Linked DNA regions of Homo sapiens: regions 1 and 2 are each linked to region 3. The links are contacts of gene promoters, found by promoter capture Hi-C in blood cells and fetal thymus (Javierre and others, 2016). All regions are on one chromosome and are shown on one strand. Each heading gives the region's core, a stretch centred on a gene start or on the middle of the fragment in contact. The rest is flanking DNA. Distances are from core to core; before and after follow the strand shown.

Region 1 (2,700 bases), core at 135-2,634, 210 kb before region 3:
TTTGTGCCTTAACAACCCAAGGGTACCATGGTTAGCCCACTATGGAAGAAGTTACTGAGGCTTAGAGCGGTGATGGGACTTGCCTGAAGCCACACACGGAGTAAGAGGCATTTGAATCCCCAACTACCTGAACGCAGAGCCACAGCCCTTGACCCCGAGGCTCTACTGCTGTGAAAAAGGCAGGCACAAAGGCAGTGGCAGGAGGGACGATTGGGTCGGGCAGGGAGGGACAGGGAAAACGGAAGCGGACACCCTTGAACTGGGTTGTGAAGGGTGATTAAAGGTTGGTTCTCTGACGAAAAGGCAAAAAAGTTGTCCTTCCTCAAGAGACAAACTCAGAGGGCATGTGGAGGCTTGGGGCAGGCTTTGAACTTAGGTTCCATCTTATACCAGGCATGACCTTAGACAAGTCACCTAAGCTTCTCTGAGCCTTGGCTTCCTCATTCAGAAAACAGGGATAATGGTAGTTCCTACCTCTTAGACTATGGGGATTAAAGATGTCTGTGAAGCCCTTGACGCATAGGAGGAACTTTATGAATGACAATAGGTGCTGCTGTGTAGCCCTTACCATGTGCCGGGCGCTGTCAAACACTTGAGCATGATCTCATTAATTCTCAACACTCCTGTGAAACAGGTGCTTTTATTATTCACATCTTTACAGAGAATGAAATTGAGTGCCTTGCACGTGGTAGACAACCTGGCCATTAAACGTCTATTGGTTAAATGATCGGAGAATCAGAGAGGAGAAAGCAGTCAAGGACACACTACTAATAAATGACAACTGAGTTTGAACCAAGGGCCATCTAACTCCATCCTCCTGGCCTGGCCTCTGTACCATGAGCTTATTTTAAGTCAGCTCTGGGTGAACCACCTGCAGCAGGAAAAGCTCAGGCTTAGGAGTCAGCCTGCTGGGTACTAGCTGTGTGGCCTCGGCAGGTTCCTTAGTTTGATCATCCATGTGACAATATACTAAGATGGAATTATTTCCATCCCAATTTGGCTGGGTTCCCAAGGCAATAGGGGGCCTAGCTACTCCACCTCCCAGGATGAATTGCTGTCCACACACAGGGCTTTCAAAGACATGGTCAAAAACTAGCTGTGTGTCTCCTTGCCTCTTTCCCACACCAAAGACGTTAAAGGTTCAAGTTGGAGCTCTGAGAAGAGTTTTCTTTAAAGGAAGTTACTGGAGGGCTTTGAGTGCACAGGGGAAGGGGGAGCTTTCCTTCTCCCTCAGCCTAGGGATTGGTGTCTCAAGGAGACCACTCAAGAGCTTGGAGATGACGAAGGTGCCAGGCACCCACCTCACACCTGAGCAATCTTGAAAGCAAGAGGCTGATGAAGCAAAGAGAACTTGGTGTGAAGGAGCTTGTGCTATAAGTCCCATCAGCCAAATGTGGACCCATGAGGCAGCCAGACTGGACTGTCCTGGGTCTTGCTCTGGAAGGACAGAGGGACCTTAGTGCAAGATAGACCTTGGGTTGCAGGACTGAGGGAGGAGTTACAAGCAGCCAGCTAGAGAATCTATTGGCTTCCTCAAGGGAAGTGAACCAAGATCTGAAGAACCAACAAGTGCACCCTAGAGGGAAGCCCAGAGCATCTGCACCGGCCACAGGAAACCAGCAGGCCCTTCCCCATGTCCCCTGCGACCCTGCCCCTGAGAGAGGGAAGAAGCTGTACTTCTAAATGAAGTTCAAAATCTTGACTATGACCTGGGAATGGCCTTTTTAAAAAAAATTACTTTTAAATAGGTAATATATTTACATGGTGCCAAAAAATGTCTTAGATACCTCCCTTCTTATCCATGCCATTTGCCCAATTTCCCCTCCCTCCCTCCCTCCCCACTATAAGTTTCTTAGTTGTCCTTGCAGAGTTCCTAAATACAAGCCGATACTCTCTGTCTATTCTGAGGCATCCATTGTTTCCCATATTTTAGCAACTCTGAAATCAGAATGCATCATACAAGAAGGCAGTCCTGGTGTCACCTAATACCTTAACATATTTATTTTGTCTATATGTTTCCTTTTTATTTGTGCCCAAAGTTGATATGATATAAATTCATGTCTAAATAAGTCTAAATGAGTTCTCAAATATAAAATTCTAAGCATTGTGCCAATTTAATCAGCAATGGTCTTTCTTAGTGGCATATAAATTAATGGTGGCTTTGTCACTCCTGGCATCTTAGATCCAATAGATCTGCAGCGATTCTTATTCACAAGTGTGTCAGCCTGCCCACCACTATCTACATCTTTTTCCATTTAACAGTAGATTTTGGAGGTCATTTGTTGTGAAGGACATGTGGGTGTCTCCTGGGTTTTGCTGTTACAAACAGTACTACAGTGGCAAAGCTTGTATATGCAAATGTGTAAAGAGTAAATTCCCAGATGTGTAAGTGCTATTTACTCTTGCACCCGCAGTGGACTTGAGAGCCTGTTTTCCCACAGATTCGCCAGCAGGGTGCGCTGTGAGCATTTGCCTGTCAGGTAAGTGAGCAGTGGATTCACAGTGTGGTTTTGTTTGCATTAATACCAGTTGTTGTTGTTGTTGTTTTGTTGTTGTTGTTGTTGTTGTTTGAGACAGAGTCTCACTCTGTTGCACAGGCTGGAGGGCAGTGGTGCGATCTTGGCTCACTGCAACCTCTGCCTCCTGGACTCAAGAGATTCTTCTGCCTCAGCCTCCCAAGTAGCTAAGATTACAAGCACG
Region 2 (2,700 bases), core at 68-2,567, 230 kb before region 3:
CTCTTCTACTCCTTGTAGCTTAGAAGTGACCCCTGTTCCGTTACTTAATGTATTTATTGAGGAATATTAGGGGAGGGAAACAAGGAAAAGATCTAGCAGTCCCACTTTTTGGTATTGACTAAAAAGATTTGAAATCAGTTTGTAAAGAGGTGTCTACGTTCCCGTGCTCATTGCGGTGCTCTTCACAGTAGCGAAGTTATGGATCAGCATAAGTGTCTTACCAGCAGATGAATGGATAAAGCAAATGTGGTGTATATACACAGTAGGAATACTACTCAGTCTTTAAAAAGAAGGAAATTGTCATTTTCAACAACATGGATAGAGAACATTATGCTAACTAAAATAAGCCAGGCACAGAAACACAAATAAAGCATGCTCTCGTGTGGAATCTAGAACAATTCCAATCTAGAACAATCGACAGAGTGTGGTTACAGAGGCAGAAGTGAGGGCATAATGGGGAGATGGTGGTCAAAGGGTATAAAATCTTAAGACAGGAGGAATATGGTTTGGGGCTTTTTCTTTTTTAGATCTCTTGCACAGCATGATGAATATAGTTAATAAAACAGCATTGTACATTTCAAAATTGCCAAGTGTTAATTTCAAGTGTTCTCACCACAAAAATTTTGAGTATTTGAGGTGATGAATATGCTAACTAGCTTGATTTAATCCACTTCATATTGTTAAAGCATAACATCACTTTGTACACCATAAGTATATACAATTATAAATTGCCAATTTACAATTTTAAAAAATAAGGAAAAGAAAGAAAAAGTTATTCATTATATTACAGTCCATACGTAACCAGGTATCCATTTTTTGGTATATTTCTTTCCAGCTTTTTCTTTTTAATTTAAAAAACATCATGTAAAAAACAGAATAATAGGCTTATAAGTGTATATTTCCCCCAATAGACATGTACCCATCAACTATTTGTTTTTAACCTTTAGAACATTATAATAAAAATATCCATTATGGAAACTACAGACTAGTATAATGAAAAAGTCTTAAACTCATCTACCCTTTGGTAACTACGGTTGATATTCTGGCATATTTCCATCCAGTCTTTGTTCTGTATATAAATATGGTTTTGCTGGATCAATGCTACATCTCAGACGTTTCCCCATGTCCTTAAAATCCTTCATATGCCTTTTCATATGCTATAATAATAATCCATTATATGGGATGCCTGACATTTAGATTTTTTTCAATGTTTTACTACTGTAAATATCAGTGCTATGAACATTTTTGTGGATTAATTAACCACATTTCAGATTTTTTTTAGGATAGTTTTTAAAAATGGAAATACCAGGTCAAGGGCATGCATATTTTTAAGGCTCTTGATCACAGGCTCCCAGTTCTGAAGCCAGGGCTTTGAGATCCCTTAATAAAGACTTTATAGTCCATTTAGCAGAACTTCATCTACCTGGAATGAACAAGAATGAACGCCAGCCTCATTTCATGGGTTTTGGTTCTCCACAGGATCTGCCTCGGTCTGTCAGACATTCCTAAGGAAAATTGTATAATAACTATTTCGGGAATGCAGTTATCTCATCATGGTCAGTCTTTGGGGAAGTGGGCTGAGAAATTACATGTGTTCTATTCTCTATTTTCATTCCTATTGTGACCTTCACACCGACTCAAAACCTTCCTTTTAGATACTTCTGGATATAAAAATATATGTTAATTTTGGGGTTTCACACTCCTGAGTGAAAGGCAGTGTCATCAAGTACGTGAATGCCCAGCTCCTAAATGTCTTTCTCGTTCTCCTCCCACCCAGTCACGTCCTCCAGGCAGTGACCTTCCTTTATTTCACATTCCGCTTACTTCCTTGACCCCTCAGCATTTCAGACCTGAAAGGACACTGGTACTGTTGTCCTTGTCGGGGCCTGTGGCTTTGCCTCTCATTCCCTGGTGAATGTCAGGAAATAGAGGGCTGAGACTAATTTTTATAGGTTCTCAATTTTTCTTGCTTGGGGACAAGCTGTTGACTTAGCTCTGAATAGGAGTAATAAGGAGGCAGTGGGCCAGGCTGCATGACAACTGGTTTTCAGGCCCATATAAAAAAGTACTAACTTTATTATCTCAAGCCATGCCTGGCCTATTGCAAAGCCCAGTGTGGGTGTCTTGGGGCTTGTATTTGAGATTGGAGCTTCTCTGACCTCCAGTACCCTTTCCTCAGGGGCCACAGTGTGTGTCACATGAATGGCAAGGTGAGGTGAGGCTTGGGGGAGCTCCTGGTGCTGTGTCACACCACCTTACCTGTGTGCATTACTCTGTGCTTGTTCTTTTGCATACATCTGCTGATTTGAACCTCACGGCTCTGACTTAAGGAGCAGGTAGGTAGGGCATGTGGTCCTTCCCTCCCGTTTCAAAGACAAGGAAAGTGAGTCACAGAGTAGTGCACTGGCTTACCCAGGACATACAGTGGCAGAGCCAAGACTGGAGCCTAGCTGCTTGTACTAACCATGCCAGTGCCACCATTAACCCCAAGTCACTAGTGGTAGCTACTTCTGACTATGACTGTAGTCACTGTCTCCTGGAGAGGAGCCTGGCCACCAGATTGATAGTCCCAGCTGAGACTCTCTCCTGAACTGATAAGCTGTTTTGCATGCTTGGAATGCCTTTCCCCAGTTTGTTCACCTGATAAACTCATCCTTATCCTCAAGATTCAGCCCAGAAGACACCCTTAAAGGAAGCCTT
Region 3 (2,700 bases), core at 33-2,532:
GCTGGTTCCACTACTTTCCTTTTTAGTCTGTGTGTTTCGCTCTCTCGGAATAAATTCCTATTTATCTTTTTAAATGGCTCCCAGTGGTGTGAGGTACTTTTAAAATGTACTTTTTGGCCTGGCGCAGTGGCTCACGCCTGTAATCCCAGCACTGTGGGAGGCTGAGGCGGGCGGATCACTTTGATGCCAGGAACTGGAGACCAGCCTGGCCAACATGGTGAAACCCCGTCTCTACTAAAAGTACAAAAAGTAGCCAGGCACGGTGGCGGGCGTCTGTAATCCCAGCTACTTGGGAGGCTGAGGCAGGAGAATCGCTCGAACCCGGGAGACGGAGGCTGCAATGAGCCGCGATCGCCCTACTGCACTCCAGCCTGGGCGACAGAGGGCGACTCCGTCTCAAAAAAATCAAATGTACTTTTTAAGTGATGGACTTCTTAAAAGAGAAAACAAACAAAGAAAAAACCCAAACCCTGAGATTTGCTATTCCTGAGACATTGATTTTCCCGAGCACATATTACCTAACCTTTTTCCCCTCCCCACAAAATACGCACACAAACTCCCCCCGCACCCTCCCGCCCCACGTCCCGGAGGCTTTTTCAGTCTCCAGATTGAACTGACTTCGTGCAACGTGAAGCCACCGGGATGGGGCCACTCCGTGGAAACCGGCCCGCAAAGGGCAGGGTGGCGGCGGTGGCGGGGAGGGAGCGAAGGGAGGGAGGAAGGGGTCGGAAGGGGACCGGGCGGGGACCCTGGGAGAGGGGCGTGGGGAGAGAGGGCTGAGCCGGGCAGGGCGAGACCCTTCCGGGCGTGAGGGAGGGGAAAGCAAAGTGCAGGGGCTGGGAAGAGCTGACGGCCACGCTCAGGGGCAGGGGGACGCCAAAGGCTCCTCCACAGACGACTCCTCAGAGTTCCGGGCCGGGTGCTCACAGAGGGAAACTGAGGCCACAGCGCCCATTTTCTTCCGCGTGCGGGCGAGGAGACCCCGGGTCGCGCCTCCAGCCCCAGCTGGGCTGCGGGCGACGACCTTTCTTCCTCAGGCGGGACCCTCCGGGCTTGGCGCCGCGAGCTAACACGGCGTGAGGCGCCGGCGCCGGGTGCGTGTGGGAATGTGGGTGGCGGCGGCCCCCATCTCCCAGCCCGCCTACAGCACTCGGGGTCCGGCCGGCCTCTCAGGCTGCGCCCTACTTTCAAAGCCTCGTCTGAGGTGTGGCGTGCCAGAGCAGGGGCTGCGAGGAGTCGCCAAGTCAGCTTGGCCGGGTTCTTGGCGCCGCTGGGCGTCTGCAATGCGCGGCAGGCGCGGGGCGGGGAGGGGCGGGGCGTGGAGAAGGCGGGGCAGTGGGCGAGGGCGGGGCGTGCAGGGGACGGGGCGGAGCAGTGGGCGAGGGGCGGGGCGTGCAGGGGACGGGGCGGGGCAGTGGGCGAGGGCGGGGCGTGCAGGGGACGGGGCGGGGCGTGCAGGAGACGGGGCGGGGCAGTGGGCGATGGACGGGACTGACAGGGGATGGGGCGGGGCAGTGGGCGAGGGGCGGGGCGTGCAGGGGATGGAGAGGGACGGGCAGGACATGGGGAGGGGCGTGGAGGGGTATGGACGGGCGGGGCGGGGCAGTGGCTGAGGGACCGGGGGCAGGGGGCGGGGAAGGGCGGGCCAGCGACCGAGGGACTGGGCGCGGCGGCGGCGGCGGCGGCTGGGGGTACGGACAGAGTAGGGCAGTGCGCTAGAGTGGAGAGGACCGGGACTGAGAGGGACGAGGGCGCAGGGCGTTGGTGGGGACAGTGGACGGGGCAGGAGGGATAGAGTCAGACAGTGAGCAAGGCGCACCGGTCCTAGTGCGCAGTCTCCGGCTTTGTCCTGGCGCTCGGACCTGAGACACCTGAGCAGGGGCATGACAGGGATGGGGCCTGGGCCCCATAGTCCTGTTGTGAAAGGTGATCTTTCTGGCTGATCTCTGAACATCCCTATGATGCAGTCCAGTCTCTTCTCTTCCACTTATAGCTGGAGGTCACTGGAGAAATTCTTTAATCCCTTGAACCTCAGATTTTCTCATCTGTAAAGTGAAAATAATAAAAGTACTCGCGCCGTAGGATATTGTAAGAAATAAATAAAATGAACCATGAAAAGAGCCAAGCAATAATAAGTGCTCTACAAATATTAGCTATTATTATTATTGTTATTATTAAAAAGATTATTCACATTGACCTGCCCTTTGGGGACAGCAAATATTTTCCAGCCTGGAATATCACAGTTCTCAGTAGTCAAGGCCAAGTGCTAGAACCTGAGAAAAATCCTGCAAGAGCATCAGGATGCAAGGCTGGTTTCCTCTCTTGAGTTTGATAGTAAATACTAATAAATCTTGGAGCGGCAATGGCATCCAATATAAGGTTATTGATAAGGTTCAGGCTCCTGGCTGGGCATTTTCATGGGTTGTCTCATTGACTCTTCAAACAATCTCACAAAAGTAGTTACTGGTTTTCCCCTTTTGAATAAGGAAAGGGCTGGAGAAAAAATAGCAACCTGTCTAGGGTCACGTGGTTGGGAATTGTAGAGACAGGATTCAAATTGAATTCAAATTGAAGTTTAGCTCCCAATTTCCGACCTCAGGAAATGATGTCACGGCAACCATTCAAGAGGATGTCTGGGAGACACCCTTGGTGCCACCCTCATGTCTACTTCAATGCCAGCCCATCAGCAAGCCCATCACT

The links. The method cuts DNA at HindIII sites, captures the fragments that hold promoters and counts their contacts. A CHiCAGO score of 5 or more calls a contact.
Region 1: a contact is called between a fragment that was not itself captured here and the fragment with the promoter of RAD21L1 in region 3, in 7 of 17 cell types (naive CD4 T cells, activated CD4 T cells, non-activated CD4 T cells and 4 more). The highest score is 11.1, in naive CD4 T cells.
Region 2: a fragment that was not itself captured here is called in contact with the fragment with the promoter of RAD21L1 in region 3 in 1 of 17 cell types (total CD4 T cells); the score reaches 5.0 in total CD4 T cells.

Annotation. Positions count from the first base shown.
Region 1 is chr20:1,437,232-1,439,931 of GRCh38, reverse strand. No RefSeq gene overlaps it. Among named protein-coding and RNA genes, the nearest start is that of NSFL1C, 28 kb to the left of the region's middle. The HindIII fragment of the contact is 1,926 bases long and covers 422-2,347 here.
Region 2 is chr20:1,455,350-1,458,049 of GRCh38, reverse strand. All of the region lies in intron 3 of NSFL1C (NSFL1 cofactor), which reads left to right. Among named protein-coding and RNA genes, the nearest start is that of NSFL1C, 10 kb to the left of the region's middle. The HindIII fragment of the contact is 4,620 bases long and covers 1-2,700 here.
Region 3 is chr20:1,224,626-1,227,325 of GRCh38, reverse strand. It overlaps RAD21L1 (RAD21 cohesin complex component like 1), which reads right to left and starts at 1,282. Exons shown (of 14, transcript NM_001384355.1): 1 at 1,186-1,282. RefSeq lists a silencer at 1,021-1,070. The HindIII fragment of the contact is 7,037 bases long and covers 1-2,700 here.